3 separate regions of the Homo sapiens genome follow, and regions 1 and 2 are each linked to region 3. Evidence: promoter capture Hi-C in human tissues and cell types (Jung and others, 2019). All regions are on one chromosome and are shown on one strand. Each heading gives the region's core, a stretch centred on a gene start or on the middle of the fragment in contact. The rest is flanking DNA. Distances are from core to core; before and after follow the strand shown. Region 1 overlaps THAP4 (THAP domain containing 4). Region 2 holds the start of D2HGDH (D-2-hydroxyglutarate dehydrogenase). Region 3 holds the start of FARP2 (FERM, ARH/RhoGEF and pleckstrin domain protein 2).

Region 1 (2,700 bases), core at 162-2,661, 260 kb before region 3:
CCTCACTCACCAACTCACCCCTCACTCATCCCTCACTCACTGACTCACTCACCCCTCACTCACCGACTCACTCACCCCTCACCCCTCACTCAATGACTCACTCACCCCTCACCCCTCACTCACCCCTCATTCACCCCTCACTCACGACTCACCCCTCACTCACCCCTCACTCACCGACTCCTCACTCACCCCTCACTCACCCCTCACTCACGACTCACAACTCACTCACCCCTCACTCACGACTCACGCACCCCTCACTCACCGACTCACTCACCCCTCACTCACCAACTCACTCACCCCTCACTCACCCCTCACCGACTCACTCACCCTTCACTCACCGACTCACTCACCCCTCACCCCTCACTTACCAACTTACTCACCAACTCACCCAGAGCAACTGCCCATGCTGCACACTCCAGTGCTGGTAAGTGCCTTATGCAGGTGAACCATTTTTTGTCTCTTATGCCATATTTTTACTGTAGGTTTTCTATGTTTAGATGTGTTTTAGGTACACACACCCTTGGCACTGTGTTACAACTGCCTACAGTATTCAGTAACACACTGGGGTGTGTAGCCTGGGAGCACAGGCTGTGCCATACAGCCTAGGTGCGTGGTACGCGGTAAGTGCACTCTGTGACGTTTGTACAATGATGAACTTGCCTCATGACGTGTTTGTCAACGCATCCCCCATCAGTAAGTGCTGCTTGACTGAAAGGTGAAGTAAGTGTGCCTTGTTTGGAGGGCATCCATCCCCTTAACCTGGCTGGCACTCGGGCTGTGTTTAATCCTGCAGTGGCTGTAAAATTCCTCGAGTGTCCTTGTTTTGTCTCCCTGTTGTCGTGGAGTTTCTCCGAGCATGCCTTCCACAGCCTGCGCCTGGGCCCTTTCCACTCCCACCCAGGATGTTATGCTGGAGCCTGCAGGGCTGGGAGGGGAAGCAGGCTCCAGCCTGTGACTCGATTTAAGCCCTTCAGTGGCCCGTGTCCCTGAGCCGTGACCTTCACACGTGTCTTTCCCTTTCTCCTCCCCGCTTGGGTGAGACGGAAGACTGGTGGGGCTGGAGCAGTGAAATGCCCTTCCCAGCTGAGATGAGGTCCTGGTGAAGTCAGCTTCGCTACAGAGCAGGCCTGGCCTTTGCCTGGAGAACGCTCTGGGCTCATTTCAAGGTGGTCACCTCCCCCTCCTCATCCCAGAGACATGAGGTGTTTTTTTTTTTCTTGGCTTTTCGTGGGGAGAACCTGATGGGGTTCCTGGAGGTGAAACCTATGAAAATGTAGGACCCCAGGAGATTCTCACACCTGCCATGTTCAGCCTCCAGCATTTTGTCCAAATCAAGTTCCCACCAGTTCCTTCCCCTGTAGACTGTAGATTCTGCTCCACGTGAGCTGATCTCACTGCTATTCTCTGTGGCAGGAGAGACATCTGTGACCTCACTTCCTTATGGATCCAAGAAAAGTTGTTGATTTTCACTTCTTTCAGTGTTTTTTGCTGTTGTTTTAAGGCTGTGGTATATGACTCCTAAGCTCTTTACATGTGAGAGTGGAAACCGGAAGCTTACTCCCCACCCATTATTTTTCGGTTATTGCTAGCGTGTGGGAAAGCTACCCATTTTAGTAATTGGCCATCTTATCAAATTCACTTGTAGATTCTAATAGTTCTTCAATTGAGACTCAGATTAACGAGGAAATCAAACATAACATTTGCAAATTATTTGTATCCACTTTATGGCCTTTTTATATTTTATAGAAATACTTGCTGTATTTTCTCTCCATCATGATTTCTGTTTTTCCCCTGGGCATGCAACTCCTTCCGTTTCATGGTTGATAAGTTGAGGGCCTTGATGTCACTTTAAAACAACAGTTCCCTGCTGGTATGCCTTGTCAGTGGACCCAAACATATCACGGTGTTCCTGGACAGCTCCTCCCCACCTTGGGACAGCTGGTGCGGGCCGCGCACCCTCAGCTTCCATGCACCCTGTTGTACTAAGCAGTAAGTGTCCCTTTCTGTGTGTGCCTTGGCAGGAAACAACGTGTCACTAACACAAAGAGATGTGAGGGTGGGAGCTCCAGGAAGGAGCCGTCCCCAGGTCCCAGTGGGTGCATTTGCTCACTTCCTGTCCTGGGTTCCCGGGCCGCTTGCCAGGAGACAGGACAGTCTCTGGAGCCTCCATGTCCAGGTGAAGATGAGTCTCCAGCCACCCTCTAGGAGACAGAAAAGGACATGCCAGGGGTGGCCAGAGGGACTGCTCTGGAGAGAGAAAGCATTTAGGATGTGCCTGTCTCTGTGGTGTTGCCTTCCTCTGCTGTAGCTGGTGGAGGAGGCTGAGGGTAGAAGCCGCACTCGTCACTCCGCCCAGACCTCTGGCCAGTCCCTCTTTCATAAAATTCACCTAACCTCCAAAGCTCCTTCCAGCTCTGAAATTCTGTGATCTGGGCTGTCATTGTCTTTTACTTTCTTCTGAGACGTGATCTTTCATAGTGGAACTACAATTCCCAGAATGCACCATTTAAAGTTAGCATTCACTTCCTGCAGAGCCATTAAGAGCCAGGTGCAAACATTTCCCGTCAATTGGCAGAAAACAACCTTGAGGAACCTTGACGAGTGTCCGGAGTTTAGAAAACTTAGGGATGGGTAAGCCTGCTTTCAGTGTCTTGGGCCAAAACATGAAAATTTAAATTTCTTGCAGGAAATTTAAATTTT
Region 2 (2,700 bases), core at 90-2,589, 380 kb before region 3:
CAACATGGTGAAACCCTGTCTCTACTAAAAATACAAAAATTAGCGGAACGTGGTGGCGGGCGCCTGTAGTCGCAGCTACTAGGGAGGCTGAGGCAGGCAAATCGCTTGAACCCGGGAGGCAGAGGTGGCAGTGAGCCGACGTCGCGCCACTGCACTCCGGCCTGGCGACAGAGTGAAACTCCGTGACTGCACTCCAGCCTGGCGACAGAGTGAGACTCCGTCTTAAAAAAAAGAAAAAACAAAACAACAACAACAACAAAACTTGGGTTGTTCTAAGCGACTCGTTCGTGGTCATTCATTCCAGCAGCCTGTGGCGGTGCACACGCCCCTCTCAGCGCAGCCAGGGGCTGGCACCCCCATCCAGGTTGTTCTCAGCCCGCTTTGAAGCCTCCACGGGAAGGCGCAGCGGAGCAGGGACGCGGAAACGCCGCAGCTTCCCAAGCCTCACCCACCTCGCAGCGTCCGCAACCAGTCCACGTTGGGAGCCTGCAGCGCTTCCGGGTCCGTGACGACCCCGCCGGGCACGATGCGCTCAAAGGCGGCCAGGTCCTGCTTAGACACCGTGGAGAACGGCAAGCGCCGCACGGGGTAGCGCTCCCGGGTCAGCGGCACCTCGGGGGTCCCCGGGGCGGAGCAGCAGCCTCTGCGGGCCAGGGGGCCAACCGGCCGACCCCAAGAACCCGCGGCTCCCGGAGCACCCCGCAACAGCCACGCGGGCCACGCCAGAGGCCGACGGGGCAGCATCGCCGCCGGGACGGAGACCTCGGGCTCCTCCTTGGTGGGGGGCCGGTACTCAGGGCCCGGAGGGGAAGGGCAGGGAGCCGCTGGCTGCGCGCCTGGAAGTGGCCAAGGGTAATTTCATGTTTTATGCACGTTGTACAAATTGAAACACGCTTGCAGAAGCAGGGAGGGGGCAGGAGGGCAGCGAAGGGAAGGCTCCGAGCACCCGGGCCCTCCCCCTGCCCGGGCCGCAACCCCGCGAGCGCGCGAAGCCCCACGCAGCAGGCCTGGACTTAGCGACGCGCAGGCTCGGGGCGGCCTCGCCGGGACCTTGCCCAGGACCCCGTTCCTCCGAGCTCGCCCCCCGAGGGGATCCCGCGGACGCGCGCGCGTGTTCCACGCGGTCACGTGACGAGCTGCAGCGCCGTCCCCCTCCCCCCACAGGCACCGACTGGCTGACGGCGCCCGAGATCGCGCCCCGCCACCCCGACCCGCGGCTGAACCGCAGACCGGGACCCTCAGCCCAGCGCTCCGCGCGGCCGCGCGCACGCACCCACGATCACGTCCCGAGCTCCAACCCGCAGCGCCCGCCGCAGGCCCAGAGCCGCCGAGCCGGAGTGGGCGGGGCGACGCCGCGCCTGCGCATTGACGGCTCCGCCCAGCGGCCGAAGCCCCGCCCCGCGCGCCTAACGGGCCCCGCCCCGCCTGCCCTCCAGGCCCAGCCCTGCGCGCCTACAGTCCCCGCCCCGCCGTCCAAGCCCCGCCCCGACTGGCACCGGAGGCTCGACGGCCACCGCCTCGTCCTGCGTTTCCTGAGGGCCTCCGGCGCGCCGGCTGTCGGGCGCATCCCTCCAGGTAGAGAAGGGACTAGGCTGAGCGCAGCCCAAGACGCCCAAGCAGCAGCTGGAGGGTTCTCCAGAACGAGGCCCGGGACGTGGGCTCGGCCGAGGGACCTGGGGGCCGGCCCGCTCCTCCGAGGCCGAGCCCAGGGGGCGCCCCTTTCCCCAGCGGCCTCCCCAGCTCCTGCACGGACCACCCCTCCTGGGTCCCCAGCCTTAGCTTAGGGGGCAGCTGCCTCCTGCAGGTGTTTTCTTGCCTCCCTGTCCCTTCTGCCTGTTCAGCCCTCCGTGCCCTCAAACCCTTTGCACACCTGGGGAGCTCCTGCCCTCCTGACGCAGTAACTGCTGTCCCGAGGAGCCTCCCGGCCTGGGATCCCCTGCCTGAGGCATCGCCAGCACTTGTTTTGTGTTTTTTTGAGACAGGGTCTAGCTCTGTTGCCCAGGCTGGAGTTCTGGGGTTGATCTCAGCTCACTGCAACCTCTGCCTCCCGAGCTCAAACCATCCTCCCACCTCGGCCACCCAAGTAGCTGGGACTACGGGCGTGCACCACCACACCCGGCTAATTTTTTGTTGTTGTTGTATTTTTGTAGAGATGAGGTCTCATGTGCTGCCCAGGCTGGTCTCGAACTCCTGGACTCAAGCGATCCGCCCGCGTCGGCCTCCCAAAGCACTTGTTACTTCAGCTCACCCAATTCCATAGAACCCTAGCGGGTGCAGAGGATGCCAATCTCTGAGCAGATGAGGGCAGAGAGCAGGAGACCACACTTGGCCCGAGGCAGGACTGCGGAGCTGTGCAAGAGGTGGAGGCTACGCCCGTGACAGCAGATGGGTCCTGGTAGTCACACAGAAAACCGGCGAGCTGGATTTGTCCTGGTGATGAGGCTCTGGAGCAGCAGTTGCAAGGAGTCATTCCTGTCCTCCTTAACCACATCCCCAGAGGCCACTCACCTTCTTCCCAGGTGAATCATTCATACAACCCTGGAAAGGAGACATCCACCTGGCCCTTCCTACCTGGCTGGCCCTTGCTCTGCAGATGAGTGTGGGAGTTTGCCCATTGTCAAGGGTAACTGTTGCAATTACACATTCAGGAACTGGAAAGACGACCACAGATGAGGTCTGTGGACCCCCTTACCACCTGAC
Region 3 (2,700 bases), core at 201-2,700:
CATCAGCATTTAGTTTGTTAACAGTGAACCACCTAATGAGAATCTGCAACAAGGATAGGGCACATGAGAAGTACAGATGGTATTTGCAAGTACCCTAGGTGTGACCCTAAACTGGTCATTCCACCTCTCTCAACCTCCCTTTCCTCTACTTTAAAACGGGGCTGTGCAACTTGGTCATGTCTCTGAAGAGTTTTGGAAAACTGAATAAATAACGAGCATGAAGTGCTTCCTAAACCTTTAAGGACCTCAAAAAACAAAACAAAACAAAACTTTCAACAAGCAGATGTAGAAAATTTAAATTATATTTGGCCTACAAGTAAAGGTTACTCCATGCTTCCCTACCTCAAATGTCCTCTCCCATCTCTCTGGTACTGAGAAAATCTGTGTCGCCTGTTATAAGGCAGTCTACACAAGACCAACACGCTAACCCACTGCCACCTCAGGGTTATCAAACATTTACACAGTGGCCCAGACAAAAATATCCCACGGAAACAAAACAAAAACAAAAACCCAGAGAGAAAAACCACCCTTTAAAGATTTGGCCTTGGGTTTTAAATTTGCCCATCCCTTTTTAACACTATGTATTGACAATCTTTCCTTCAATGATGCCTTGTTCTAATTTCTGCTTTTCACATCCATTAATGGCACATGATAGGCCAGGGGTTGCTGCCATAGCGTAAACGGAAAAGGTGCCCGTAATTCGGGTGTGTAATGTACTGGGCCATATTCTGGTCCCCAGTTTTCATGGGTTTCCCAAAGGCTACCCACTGGCTTATGAGTATTTCTAGCCCTTAGTGGAGTAAAAATATTAACACCTAACACTTGATTCCCACCTTTAAGATACAATTTAAAGAAATGCTAAAAAGGCAAACGGCTCAAAATGCCTCCACCAGGCACCTCCAGGCCCATACCCTGCGGGTCCCTATGGCCCACTCTGGGGTGTCCTTCCGGGATGGGACACTCCCCGGCCCACGGCCCTGCCGGCCTCCACGGGGCACAACTCAACCCGCGAGTCCACGCGGGACACTCCCCGGTCTACAGCCCCACCGGCCTCCTCCACGCGGCACCCCTCAACCCGGGAGTCCACGCGGGCCACTCCCCGGCCCACCGCCCCGCCTGCCCCCACGCGGCAGGCTCCCTACAGACGGACGCTCCTCTAACCCGGACCCGCCTAGGAGCTCCAGCCGCCTCACGATGGCCTTCAGAGGCCGGGCGGGACCATCTCTGGTGGACCGCGGCCTCAGCGCCCCCCCCGCCTGGGCCTCTCGCCTCGGGCCTCGGGCTTCGCCGCCCACCCGGAGAGGCCCACCCCTGCCCCACGCGCCCAGGCCGCTTCACGTCCTCACCCTCGGCCTCTCGCTCGCCCGCCGCGTCCTCACCGGCCTCGCCCGGCCTCCGCAGTCGCAAGCAGCAGCCGCCAGACTCGCGTCGGCGTCGCCTGCTCCCAACTGCCCGCCGGCAGCCCCCGCGCAGCGCGCCCCGCCCTGACCCCGCCCCCGCGACGCGGACGCGCAGTCGATTGGCCTGCGGGGCGCCAGGGCGGAGCCTTCCCGTCCCGCGGCCTGAAAGCGCAAGATCGAGTTCTGATTGGTGAACGGACGGAGAAGGGGCGGGAGCAGGCAGGCAGCTGCGTAGGATATAAATCTGTGCAGCGCTCGGCTCGTTGGGCGGGGCGTCGGCTTGCTGAGCGAGGCAATGTCCTAGGCGAAGCCAAGGCTCGCTGGGCGGGGCTAGATCTTGGGCGGGGAGTCGGCTCGTTGGGTGGGGCTAGGTCCTGGGCGGGGAGTCGGCTCGCTGGGCGGGGCTAGGTCCTGGGCGGGGAGTCGGCTCGCTGGGCGGGGCTAGGTCCTGGGCGGGGAGTCGGCTCGCTGGGCGGGGCTAGGTCCTGGGCGGGGAGTCGGCTCGCTGGGCGGGGCTAGGTCCTGGGCGGGGAGTCGGCTCGCTGGGCGGGGCTAGGTCCTGGGCGGGGAGTCGGCTCGCTGGGCGGGGCTAGGTCCTGGGCGGGGAGTCGGCTCGCTGGGCGGGGCTAGGTCCTGGGCGGGGAGTCGGCTCGCTGGGCGGGGCTAGGTCCTGGGCGGGGAGTCGGCTCGCTGGGCGGGGCTAGGTCCTGGGCGGGGAGTCGGCTCGCTGGGCGGGGCTAGGTCTTGGGCGAGGTCTAGGCTCGCTGGGCGCGGATAGGTGCTGGGCGAGGCCTAGGCTTGCTGGGCGCGGATAGGTGCTGGGCGAGGCCTAGGCTTGCTGGGCGCGGATAGGTGCTGGGCGAGGCCTGGCTCGCTGGGCGGGGATAGGTCTTGGCCCGGGCCTTGCCGGCTGTCCTTGCACCCTTTGGCTCAGTCCCTGGCTGCCAGCCTCCTCCTTCCTCCAACGCATTGCATCCCTCGTGGGACTACAGGGACCGAAGGGGATCATCGAAGGATCGCGCGAGGCTGTGCTAAGGCTGAGACAGGCTGCTCCGTGGTGGCGGCCAGGACGGCCTTCCTCTGGCCTAGGGACCCCCACCCGAGAATGGAAGACTGACTTGCTGTGGCACACTTCCCTTCTCTTGAGAAGTTCATTGAACTCCTATGTGTTCTTCAAGACCCTACCCATCGTGCTCTCCTAGCCCGGCCCTGTCACCCACTGTCACCATGTGGCTGTTGAGGGAATAATTAACTTCAGGAAACACCCGGGCACTTAAGAGACTCCTCCTATGGTGCTGTG

What was found. The method cuts DNA at HindIII sites, captures the fragments that hold promoters and counts their contacts. A contact is called where the count stands out against the background at its distance.
Region 1: a contact is called between a fragment that was not itself captured here and the fragment with the promoter of FARP2 in region 3, in 1 of the 25 tissues and cell types used here (lymphoblastoid cells).
Region 2: a contact is called between the fragment with the promoter of D2HGDH here and the fragment with the promoter of FARP2 in region 3, in 1 of the 25 tissues and cell types used here (spleen).

What each region holds. Positions count from the first base shown.
Region 1 is chr2:241,617,343-241,620,042 of GRCh38, reverse strand. The region is part of intron 2 of THAP4 (THAP domain containing 4); the gene reads left to right. Among named protein-coding and RNA genes, the nearest start is that of THAP4, 18 kb to the left of the region's middle. RefSeq lists an enhancer at 2,391-2,510. The HindIII fragment of the contact is 4,913 bases long and covers 1-2,700 here.
Region 2 is chr2:241,733,269-241,735,968 of GRCh38, reverse strand. It overlaps D2HGDH (D-2-hydroxyglutarate dehydrogenase), which reads right to left and starts at 1,339. Exons shown (of 10, transcript NM_152783.5): 1 at 1,274-1,339; 2 at 453-836. The coding sequence starts at 744. RefSeq lists an enhancer at 273-512 and silencers at 553-662, 673-1,722, 1,763-1,812. The HindIII fragment of the contact is 17,644 bases long and covers 1-2,700 here.
Region 3 is chr2:241,355,035-241,357,734 of GRCh38, reverse strand. It overlaps FARP2 (FERM, ARH/RhoGEF and pleckstrin domain protein 2), which reads right to left and starts at 1,450. Exons shown (of 27, transcript NM_014808.4): 1 at 1,347-1,450. RefSeq lists a silencer at 1,113-1,662. The HindIII fragment of the contact is 18,573 bases long and covers 1-2,700 here.